2 separate regions of the Homo sapiens genome follow, and region 1 is linked to region 2. The links are contacts of gene promoters, found by promoter capture Hi-C in blood cells and fetal thymus (Javierre and others, 2016). All regions are on one chromosome and are shown on one strand. Each heading gives the region's core, a stretch centred on a gene start or on the middle of the fragment in contact. The rest is flanking DNA. Distances are from core to core; before and after follow the strand shown. Region 1 overlaps CAMK2B (calcium/calmodulin dependent protein kinase II beta). Region 2 holds the start of DDX56 (DEAD-box helicase 56).

Evidence for each region. The method cuts DNA at HindIII sites, captures the fragments that hold promoters and counts their contacts. A CHiCAGO score of 5 or more calls a contact.
Region 1: a contact is called between a fragment that was not itself captured here and the fragment with the promoter of DDX56 in region 2, in 1 of 17 cell types (endothelial precursors). The highest score is 5.8, in endothelial precursors.

Annotation. Positions count from the first base shown.
Region 1 is chr7:44,287,430-44,292,374 of GRCh38, forward strand. The region is part of intron 1 of CAMK2B (calcium/calmodulin dependent protein kinase II beta); the gene reads right to left. Among named protein-coding and RNA genes, the nearest start is that of CAMK2B, 36 kb to the right of the region's middle. RefSeq lists enhancers at 1,178-1,820, 2,517-3,018. The HindIII fragment of the contact is 7,022 bases long and covers 1-4,945 here.
Region 2 is chr7:44,572,544-44,577,914 of GRCh38, forward strand. DDX56 (DEAD-box helicase 56) reads right to left here and starts at 1,365. Exons shown (of 14, transcript NM_019082.4): 1 at 1,293-1,365; 2 at 1,040-1,201; 3 at 347-507; 4 at 31-201. The coding sequence starts at 1,352. It overlaps TMED4 (transmembrane p24 trafficking protein 4), which reads right to left. Exons shown (of 5, transcript NM_182547.4): 5 at 5,351-5,371. RefSeq lists an enhancer at 982-1,131. The HindIII fragment of the contact is 6,359 bases long and covers 1-2,722 here.

The sequences.
Region 1 (4,945 bases), core at 308-2,807, 280 kb before region 2:
GGCTGGCAGCTGCAGATCCACCTCTGTCTCCTCCCCTTCCTGGTGGTTCTGCCACTTGCCAGACGGCAATCTGTCACGGGAAGCCCCCTTGGAAGTGTCAGCCCTCTTGAGAAGTGGCCACAAACATGTTTAGCATGAGCCATGCAGGCCATGGCTGGGGGCCCAACATCTCTGACTTCTCCAAGAGCAAAGAAGCCAGCACCATCACCATACTCCCTTGCGACTCAGTGCTTGCCCGCCAGTGTTTATAAACATTGAGAGACAACACCGACAAAGAGCCTGGATCTGTATCATAAGCCTGTCCCTGCTGCCAAGGGCAAACTCCTATGCGTCCTTCAAGATCCAATGCAAACAGCTCCCCGCTTTCCCAGCTCACACAGAAAGTCAGCTTGGTCTTTAGATATTGCACCTCCCACGTTCCTTAGGTTAGTTTACTTAATTATCTACCTGTTCACTTTTGCCACTCCCCCTTCCAATGGCTCTCTATGGGCAGAGTGCCCTATACTCTGGACCTAGGTATCAGGCACAGTGCCTGGGCTGTGATATAGGAGCCAGAACTGACCTACAAGCAACACAGTGGGCTGTGGAGCATGGAGTTGCTGGGCCTCAGGGCTTGTCCAGCCCAGCAGTACAGGAAGAGCGGCCCCTAGAGTGTCCCAGCAGGAGGGGAGACCCACCAAGGCTTCCAGGGCCTGTGGGTAGATGGGTCTGTGCTACACTGAGGCCACAAGGCCCTGGTCAGAGCCAGGGGGTACCCCAAGTAAATAAGGCCTGGGGCTTAGGCTCCCCGCCTCTCCACCAGCGCACAGAGGCTCGAAGCCCGGTCTTCTTATCTGGAAGCACGGGCGGGCCTAGCAGGCGGCAGCATGGTCCTTGGGCTCAGCAAAGAATGCCTTGGATGACACTGCAGGTGCATAGGCTGATCACACGCCTGCCTCTAGGGTGTGGACCATCCCAGGCAGCTGTAAGGGCACAGCGGGTTGGGGCAAAGGCAGGAAAAAGCCGGAAGAGGTGCTCCTACGGGATCCCAGGTCGCTGTTCCTGTGGGCTGCGAATTGCATCTAGACATCAAGGTTGCCCGCATGATGGCCTGCATGGGACGAATGCTACTGAGCCAGGCTGAAAGCGATTTTGAATAACCTGTTCAGATCATGAGGCCCCCGGGCACCAAGCATATTATGGGGCTTTTAAAATCAAATAAAGCTAATTAAAACAAGAAAATACTCTTTGAGTCCTTGCTTTGTGGAAGGCTCTGAACCCTGTCTCATTTACAGTGGGATCAACAGTACCAGGGAAACCTGTCCTGAGAGAGAAGGGGAAGAATTAGTTCTGGGTGGGAATGGAGGCCCGGAACTACATGGCCTGTTTCTACGACTGCACCTGCTCGGGCACCTCCTTCATTGCAGGGGGGCTCAGGCTTCTCGCGCGATAATGGGGTGAAGGCCACCTGCGAGGAGAGGTGCTGAGTGTACCTCCCCTGACTGCAGCCACCCAGGGCAGTCGGTGTTTCACAGGCATCCTGTGGGCTCTCGGGGCTTCACAGGCAGAGGCAGCAGGAAGCGTCATTGTCTGCAGGATGCCCCATCCGCCTCTGTCTCCTCCTCGCATCCAGTCTATGGCTCCTCTGGCTCCACAACAGACTGCTGGTGCAGGCCCAGGCTTTCCCAGCTCTGAGCTGCCCCCCCAACCCTCGTGCCTGCCTCTTCCCTCCAGTCCCCACTTGCAACCGGCCACCAGTTGCTGACTATCCGTGGCTCCCACCAACCCCCACGGAGCTCCCCACCGCAGGTGGCTCTGTGGCCTGCCCCACTCTCCACTAAGTCATGCTGGTCGCACTGCGGCCCTCGCCAGCTGCCCGCACCTCTCCCCGGAGAGCTGGGAGGAGGTGTGTCCCTGAGCAGCATGGCTGGAGTTTGTGGGAGGGCCCAGAGAGCAGGAAGGAAATTTCGCCTTGCCCCCAGCAGGACCACACAACAGCCCCTCTAGGGCCCTCTCATGCCTCACCTTCACTGGTGAAGACTGGGGGTTACCAAGATTACCGGCTCTTGGGGTGCCAGTTAAGACACTTGGTAACGACACCAGGGAGGGAAGGTCGGACCCTGCGTCCCCACAGCCTATCCCGTGTGGTCACGCAGACCTTGCTCAGGTGCCCTCCCCAGCCACCTCACAAGGGCTGGTGACTTCCATCAGTAAGGGGGCAGTGATTGTCCCCCTACACAGAATGAGGTGACACAGGTACCAGCCACAACACAGTATCCGGCATCCAGAAAGAGCCGGCAGTGTGATTCTGCTCCCAGGACAGCATAGGCAGGGACCCAGGCGCCTGGAGTGATCGTGCATGTGATCCCCATGACAGGCTGCTGAGCTCCCGCAGGGCAGCGCTGGGCCACGCAGGATCAAAGCGGCCTCTGAGTCGGCCCACTCAACGCTTGGATTCCGTTCCCTTAGTGGAAATTTCAGAGGCAGCAGCTTCTCTCCCTGTTCCTCTCTCTGCCTCCCGCAGCCCATGTCCACACCATCCAGTTTCCTCCCCAAGTGCTGGGGCCTGTGCCACCCCAGCCAGGGCTGCCTGCATCAGTCCTGAGCCTCACCGGTCGGTTGCAGTTCACAGGCATGCGCACACACACATGTGCACTCTCCTCACTCAGATGTTGCAGAATAGGCTGGAAACGCCCCCTCAGATTCCCAACAACAGTGACAGCCAAGGGCCATGGGACCCCTTCAATCCACAGCAAGGCCACACGCAATTCCAGGAAGTTCTTAAATTTTAGAATTTTAGAAAGAAGCTGAGGAGCCCTGAGTAAAAGCAAAAGATCCAAGCCTGGCTGACCTGTTTTGTAAATCGAAATTTCCCATCCAGTTTTTGCGTCTGACGCTCCCCACGCGGGCCAGGCGCTGTCTCCCTAGTAGCAAGCACAGCCCCCTCCCCGCTCAGGTCCTCCAGAGCAGGTCCTTCTGGAAGAGTCTGGGCCGGCCACAGAAGCACTCTCAGGCCGACAGCTTTATTTCCTGCTGTAAATTAATAAAGGGTTGTTCTGAAACCAGCCTCAGGCCACCTACGTCCTTTCTTGCCTGGCTGGCCCCAGGTGGGCTCCATGAGGAGGCCTGGGCTAGGGGCTGGGGACACCCCAGCAGGCACAAGTCCGCTGACCTCATGCGGACCTTTGTGTTTTTCTTGTGTGGGTGAAACTAAACCAAATTGGTATTTATTTGTGTGTTGGCTTAAAAACACAGTTCCCAACTTTGATTAAAATGAGCTCTTGGGAGTGCCAGAGGGGGAGGTCTTTTATATTCTAATCTTGACCTAAGCAATTTGGTGGAAACAGTAACTTTTATATGAACAGAGTGCTGAGGTTGTTGTGGGTTTTTTCTTTTGTGTATTTTTCTGCTTATGATAATACAAAAACAAAACTCACGTTCACAGTAGATGGAATGTATGTTTGTATTATTGTTACGTTTACAATGTTTGCTATGGAGTAAACAAGAGGGTCTACAGAATGCGTTGACGTTGCCTCCATAACCCACAACACGGTCAGTAGGGCCCATTGATGTTTGGATGTGTGCAAGTGTGCAGCTCTGCACCATGAGGAGGTGTCTTCTTACACAATTAGGGGGCTCTTGTTGCCACTTTCCACTTTCTCCTCTCACTATGTCCCCCGCGCTGTTAATGAAGCCTCAACAGTGTGATCTGACAGTTGCATACTTCTTTGCTCATGGATACTGTCCTGTGGATGCCTGCTTGGTATTTACTCCTCCCCAGCCTCTCTGGCCCTGGGGTTCCGCCAAGTGGGGAGAGTGTTGGGGTTCCGCCAAGGGGGGAGAGTGTTTGGGCTCCTGAGGAGTTTCGGACAAGCAGGTGCCCCGCCAGGCAGGAGCTGGAGTCCCCAGGCCCAGAGTAACATCCCACAGGGAGGCGGGTGGCCATCCTACCGCCCCACTGGCAAGACGTCCCCCAGGTAGGTGCAAGCCGAGCTCCCAGGGCTGTGTCGTCCACTCCTGCCCAGGGCCCAGGCATCCTGGGTTCTAAAAACTAGGTCTGAGGTGACCCTACTGGAGACAAGCAGCTGGACACACTCACTTCTCCTCGTGAGCACCCAAACTCGGCCACAGCCTGGGCCGGCATCCAAGCATGTGCCTTATCAGCACGGGAGTTCCTGTTTTGTGTTTGACTTTTGTATTTAACATCACTTCACACACGAACCCCACATTTTGACTGAGATCATATACTCACTTATAGGAAAGAACATTCCCTCAAGTTGACGCACCACTGATAGCTGGGTGCTTCCTCCATTAGCAAGCGTTTAGGAGGTCTCCAACTTCCCTTCTCGAAAATGGCCTGCCATGACTGTTTCAGTCATTTCATTGCGTTCACTTCCAAAAGCACAATTCACGTCAGCAGCAATGGAAAACCATTCTTCCAAACTTGGAATCTGGGTGGCTCATACAACCCTAGAGAGAGTTCCCAAAGCTCTTTCCTGCTTTGGCCCAAGGGCTCCCTAACCTGAGCTTCGGAGCCCAACAAGAGCTAAAGTCTTAACTTATCCATGCTTTATGAGCCTGCTCGGGCTGCTGAAACAAAGTACCACCAACCAAGCGGTTTAAACAACAGATATTTATTTTCTTACAGTTCTGGTGGCCAGAAGGCAGAGATTAGGGCTGGTTCCTTCCTAGGGCTGGGAGGGAGAATCTGTTCCATACCTCTCTCCTGGATTCCGGTGCTGCCTGCAATCCTTGGTGCTAGTTGGCTTCTAGATGCATCACCCCAATCTCTGCCTTCACAGTTACATGGCATTCTCTCTGCTTGTGTCTCTGTGTCCAAGAACACCCGTTTTACAAGAACGACAGTCATATCTCCAATATGACCTCATCCTAACTTGACTAATTACATCTGCTACTATCCTGTTTCCAAATACAGTCACATTTTGAGGACTGGGCTTCCACATAC
Region 2 (5,371 bases), core at 115-2,614:
CACTAGGAATCACACCCACCTCTGCCTTACCAGAGGAGACTCTTGAGCTCTTCTTCAAAGCCAAAGGAAAAAAGAAGGTCAGCTTCGTCCACCACCAAAAGCTCCAGGGAGTCACGAAGTTTCAGGCTGTCTTGCTGCAAGTGGCTTAATATGCGAGATGGGGTCCCTACTACCACATCTGGCTTCTCCATCAGCACAGCTCTGGAGGTGGACAAGACATCAGTATCAGGCAGAATGTAGCAGCTGGGATCTCACCCTGGATTTGCTCTCTTTTTTGCCACACACAAACCCAACCCCACAACACTGTGTAGCTTCATTCAGGTACAGCTTTGCTGCTTTTACCCACCTCTGAGAGACTGAGTCTTCAGCAGCTGAGACATTGGCCACTCGGACATCCCGAGCACAGTAGGTAGCCAGCTGCTGAATCATGGACTGTGCTTGCCGTGCCAGCTCCTTGGTAGGAACAAGAACAAGGCCTCTCACTGCCTGTTCTACCACCGGACCTGTCTGTAAGAATATGAATTAAAGACTTTAGCCAGCAGTGCACATCACTGTGTCCACGTGTCTCTACCCCTTCCAGCCTACCTGACCCATCTGCTGCAACACTACTTAGCAGTACTTTGATCATCTATCACTCTGCCCGCCTCAGAATGCAGAGTGGAGAGTTCTTTCCCCAGGCACTGACCCTCAAAAAGAATAACGTACTCTGATGTTTATGAAGCTACTTTAAATATACTAGTTATGAAGCTAAATTCTCACAATAATTCTGTAAGTAGAAAAGATAGATGTGCTCCCTTTTTATGTAAGAAAGAAAAGAAAGTGCTTTGTCGAAGATTACGCAAAGGTTGGTGGTAGCAGGGCCGGACAAGGATCCAGGTAACCTGAACTCCAGCCCAGAGTGTTTGCCACAACAGCACCAGGTTCTCAGGCCGGCCTGCACGGGTACAGGGCCAAGAGAAAACCTCAGACAAACGGGAACCGCCCTTCCCAGGCTTTTGGAGCTTGCCTCCTTCCTCCCCTCAGCTCTCTCGTTACCCACCGCCTTCCTATGGAGCAACAGCTGCAGCATCGGAATAGCATAAGCGGCCGTCTTCCCGGAGCCCGTGCGGGCCCGAGCCAGGAGGTCCTTCCCTTCTAGGGCCAGTGGGATGGCCTTCTCCTGGATCAGCGTAGGTCGCGACCAGCCCAGATCGGTGACAGCCTAGGAGACCAGGAGTGCGGTTTAAGCGGCGTGAAGAGCGATGGCGCGCCCCGCAGAGCCCGTAAGCCGGCTCCCCAGCCCTCGCGTGTACCTGAAGGAGCCGGGGATCGAGGCCCATGTGTTCGAAGCCCAGTGCTTCAGAGTCCTCCATGGCGCTGCTCAGTAGCGCAGCACGCACGCGCTGCAGGAAAAACGCCACCGACGCGAGCGGGAGCAAAGCAACAACCAATCGGCTTCGGAGACGAAGTCACTTCCCGGAAGTGCTGGCGGCCTAGGCTTCCGGTACTCGGACGGAGCTCTGCGACTGCGCAGTCCCTAGGACTGGGTCTAGTAGGAGGCGGTGGAGCGGCCGTGCTGGGGTCGACGGGGTACTTTGGACTACAGAGCCGCTCCACTGGCTCTTCCGGCGTTCCCGGACGCCGCTGACGCACCTGATTCTCGCGACCTGCAGGAGAAGCCTCGGCCGGGGCGAGGGCCGAGGTCGTGACGGGCATGACCGTCTCTCTGCTTGGTTAGGGTTAGTGTCCCGCCGGGCACATCACCCTATGAATGGAGCCACTGAGATAGACTGGGCTGAGGAGAACCGGTTGGAATAATGAGCCATGGCAGCAACTGCCTGAGAGAGAGGACCGGCGGGTTGCTGTAGGGCTCCCTAACCGGACTGCCTGTCAGAAACCTGCACAGCTTGGTTTCTGTTCTTTGTGTCCCAAATCTGACTCGGGTCACCAGTTAAGACCCGTGTCAGACTTCTGACCTACAGACTTGCGTCGTTTTAAGCCAGTAAATTTGTGGTAATTTGTTACAGTAGCAATAGGAAAATAATACAGGTGAGGACTAAGAATCCTAATCACAAATCTTTTTTTTTTTTTGAGACATGGTCTGACTGTCACCCAGGCTGGCGCGATCTCAGGCTCAAGTGGTCCTCCCACCTCAGTCTCCTGGAAAGCTAAGACTACAGGCACGCACCACCACGTCCAGTTAGCGTGTATGTATGTATGTACGTACGTGTGTGTGTGTGTGTATGTGTATATATGTAACTCCTCCTCCCCTCCCCCCTCCCCTTCTCTTCTTTTCTTTCTAGATGGGGTTTCGCCACGTTGCCCAGGACGGTTTTGAACTCCTGGGGCCAAGCGATCTGCCTTCCTCGGCCTCCCAAAGTGCTGGGATTGCAGGTGCGAGCCACTGCTCCTGGCCCATAAGTCTTTCAGTGTAGAAGAGGGAAGCAGAAGAGGTCAAAGTGGTGCCATGTGAGAGCTCAACCCACCCTTGCTGGAGGAAGGGAGCCAGAGCCAAGCTGGAAAAGGCAAGGAAACAACCTTTGTGATTACATTAGGCCCATCCAGATGATCCAGGATAATTTATTTTACAGTCATCTGATTAGCAACTTAATTCTCTTCTGTCATGTTAGGTAACATATTCATATGTTTCAGAGTGGTAGGCCATTATTCTACCTACCATACCACCCAACACAAATCTACATTAAGACTATATCTGAGTGTTGCACAGGAATCTATGTCAACAAGCTTCCAGGATGATCCTGTGCATCCTATCTGATGCAGCCCAGCATCTGAGTACCAGAGACTAGCATCTGGCTGTTAGGTTAGGAGAGATCAGCTCATGCACCAACAGGTAGTCATGCTGGGACCAAATGATGAAGATAGGTACAACTAGTCCCAGTGAGAGCTGGGGAATTGGGCTGGGATAATAGAGGATGTTAAGAATGGAGTGTCCCCTCAACCCCAGAACTTTTTTTTCTTTTTTTGTGGTAAGGAGGGAGAAGGCTGTTTGGTAAGGATGTTGTAAACTCTGAGAAAGCAAGAATTTCAAAAGTCAAGGGTAGTATTGGGGGGAAAATCACTAGAATTTGTGTGTGTGTACCCTAACTACTGTTTTGGTTTTGTTTTTGTTTTTTAGAAGGAGTCTCACTCTGTCGCCCAGGCTGGAGTGCAGTGGCATGATCTCAGCTCACTGCAAGCTCCACCTCCCGAGTTCACGCCATTCTCTTGCCTCAGCCTCCCGAGTAGCTGGGACTACAGGCACCTGCCACCACGCCCGGCTAATTTTTTGTATTTTTAGTAGAGACAGGGTTTCACCGTTGTTAGCCAGGATGGTCTCGATCTCCTGACCTTGTGATCCGCCCGCCTCGGCCTCCCAAAGTGCTGGGATTACAGGCGTGAGCCACCGCGCCCAGGCCCTAACTGCTGTTTTTTAAAAAACTTTTTAGGTCACAACCTATCTGTAAATATGACACACCAGTATGGAAATCCTTATTCTTCTCACAGCCACCAGCTATTGGCCCATCCACTGACTATCCCAATTCCACCTGCCTTATCAGTGGAAAGGTGAAATGTATGCCCACTTTTTCCTCACACCATTCCCCTTTCTATCAAAAACTACCAAGAGAAACCCAGGACCTACCAAAATAGTTAAGATGTGCTCCACTGTGTCTACTGCCAGCCAAACCTGTTGAAGGCTGGCTCAACCCTAATCTGTGCCTTCCTGTCTTCTCACAAACGTAGTCTGATTTGCTGGCTAGATTTCTAGTAACAGCCACAGAGCAGAAATGTGTCCCTTCCCAATATGTCACATAATCCCCAAGAGCCTCAGGCCAGAAGTCCACAACATGTAACTAGTTCAAAGGATAAAATTTTTCTCTGCATTAATTCTAACATGAGGAATACTGAAAACTCTTTTAAACATCTGAAGAATTTCAGCAATTCACAATTCACCTTACTGGAGTGTTACACTGTCATCCAGATTTAGAAACAGGAGGATATAAAACTATTAAATGGAAAAGCCTAGAGAACTAAATTGCATTTTTTTTTTTTTTTCTGAGACAGAGTCTCCCTCTGCCCCCCAGGCTGGAGTGCAGTGGCTCGATTTCTGCTCACTGCAACCTCCTCCCGGGTTCAAGCGATTCTCCTGCCTTAGCTTCCTGAATAGCTGGGATTACAGGCACACACTACCATGCCTGGCTAATTTTTATACTTTTAGTAGAGAGGGGTTTTCACCATGTTGGCCAGCCTGGTCTCAAACTGCTGACCTCAGGCGATCCCCCTGCCTTGGCCTCCCAAAGTGCTGGGATTATAGGCGTGAGCCACCCCACCTGGCCCTAAATTGCATTTTTTTTTTTGTTTTTTTTTTTCAGATGGGATCACTGTTGCCCAGACTGGAGTGCAGTGGCACGATCATGGCTCACCGCAGCCTTGACCTCCCGGGCTCAAGTGATCTTTCCACCTCAGCCTCTCAAGTAGCTGGGACTATAGGCATGTGCCACCAGCTAAATTTTTTGTATTTTTTGCAGAGACAAGATTTCGCCATGTTGCCCAGGCTGGTCTCGAACTCCTGGGCTATAGGGATCCACCCACCTTGGCTTCCCAAAGTGCTAGGATTACAGGCGTGAGCCACCGTGCCCAGCCCACATGTATTTTTAAGAGTAAAAATAGCCAGGCACAGTGGAGTATACCTGTAGTACCAGCTACTTGGGAGGGTAAGGTAGGAGGATCACTTGAACCTGGGAGCTCAAGGTTGCTTTGAGCTGTGATGGCACCACTGCACTCCAGCCTTGGGGACAGAGCAAGACCCCATCACCTGTGCCCGGCCAGCTCACACCTGTAATCCCAGCACTTTGGGAGGCGAGACGGGTCACCTGCGGTCAGGAATTCAAGACCAGCCTGGTCAACATGGTGAAACCCTGTCTCTACTAAAAATACAAAAATTAGCTGGGCATGGTGGCGGGCGCCTATAATCCCAGCTACTCGGGAGTCTGAGGCAGGAGAATCTCTTGAACTCAGGAGGTGGAGGTTGCAGTGAGCCAAGATTGCACCACTGCACTCCAGCCTGGGCGACAGAGTGAGACTCCATCTCAAAAATAAATAAATGAATAAGATAAAATAAAAATACAAAAATTAGCCGGGTGTAGTGGTGGGTGTCTGTAATCCCAGCTACTCAGAAGTTGAGGCAGAACTGCTTGAACCCGGGAGGCAGAGGTTGCAGTGAGCCAAGATCATGCCACTGCACTCCAGCCTGGGCGACAGAGCAAGACTGTCTCAAAAAATAAAATAAATAAAAATTTTAAAAATACATAAATATATATATAAATAGGTACATATATGGTATAGGACATAAGAAATAACAAAAGGAGAAGAATTTAGTTCTGTAGGTCAGATA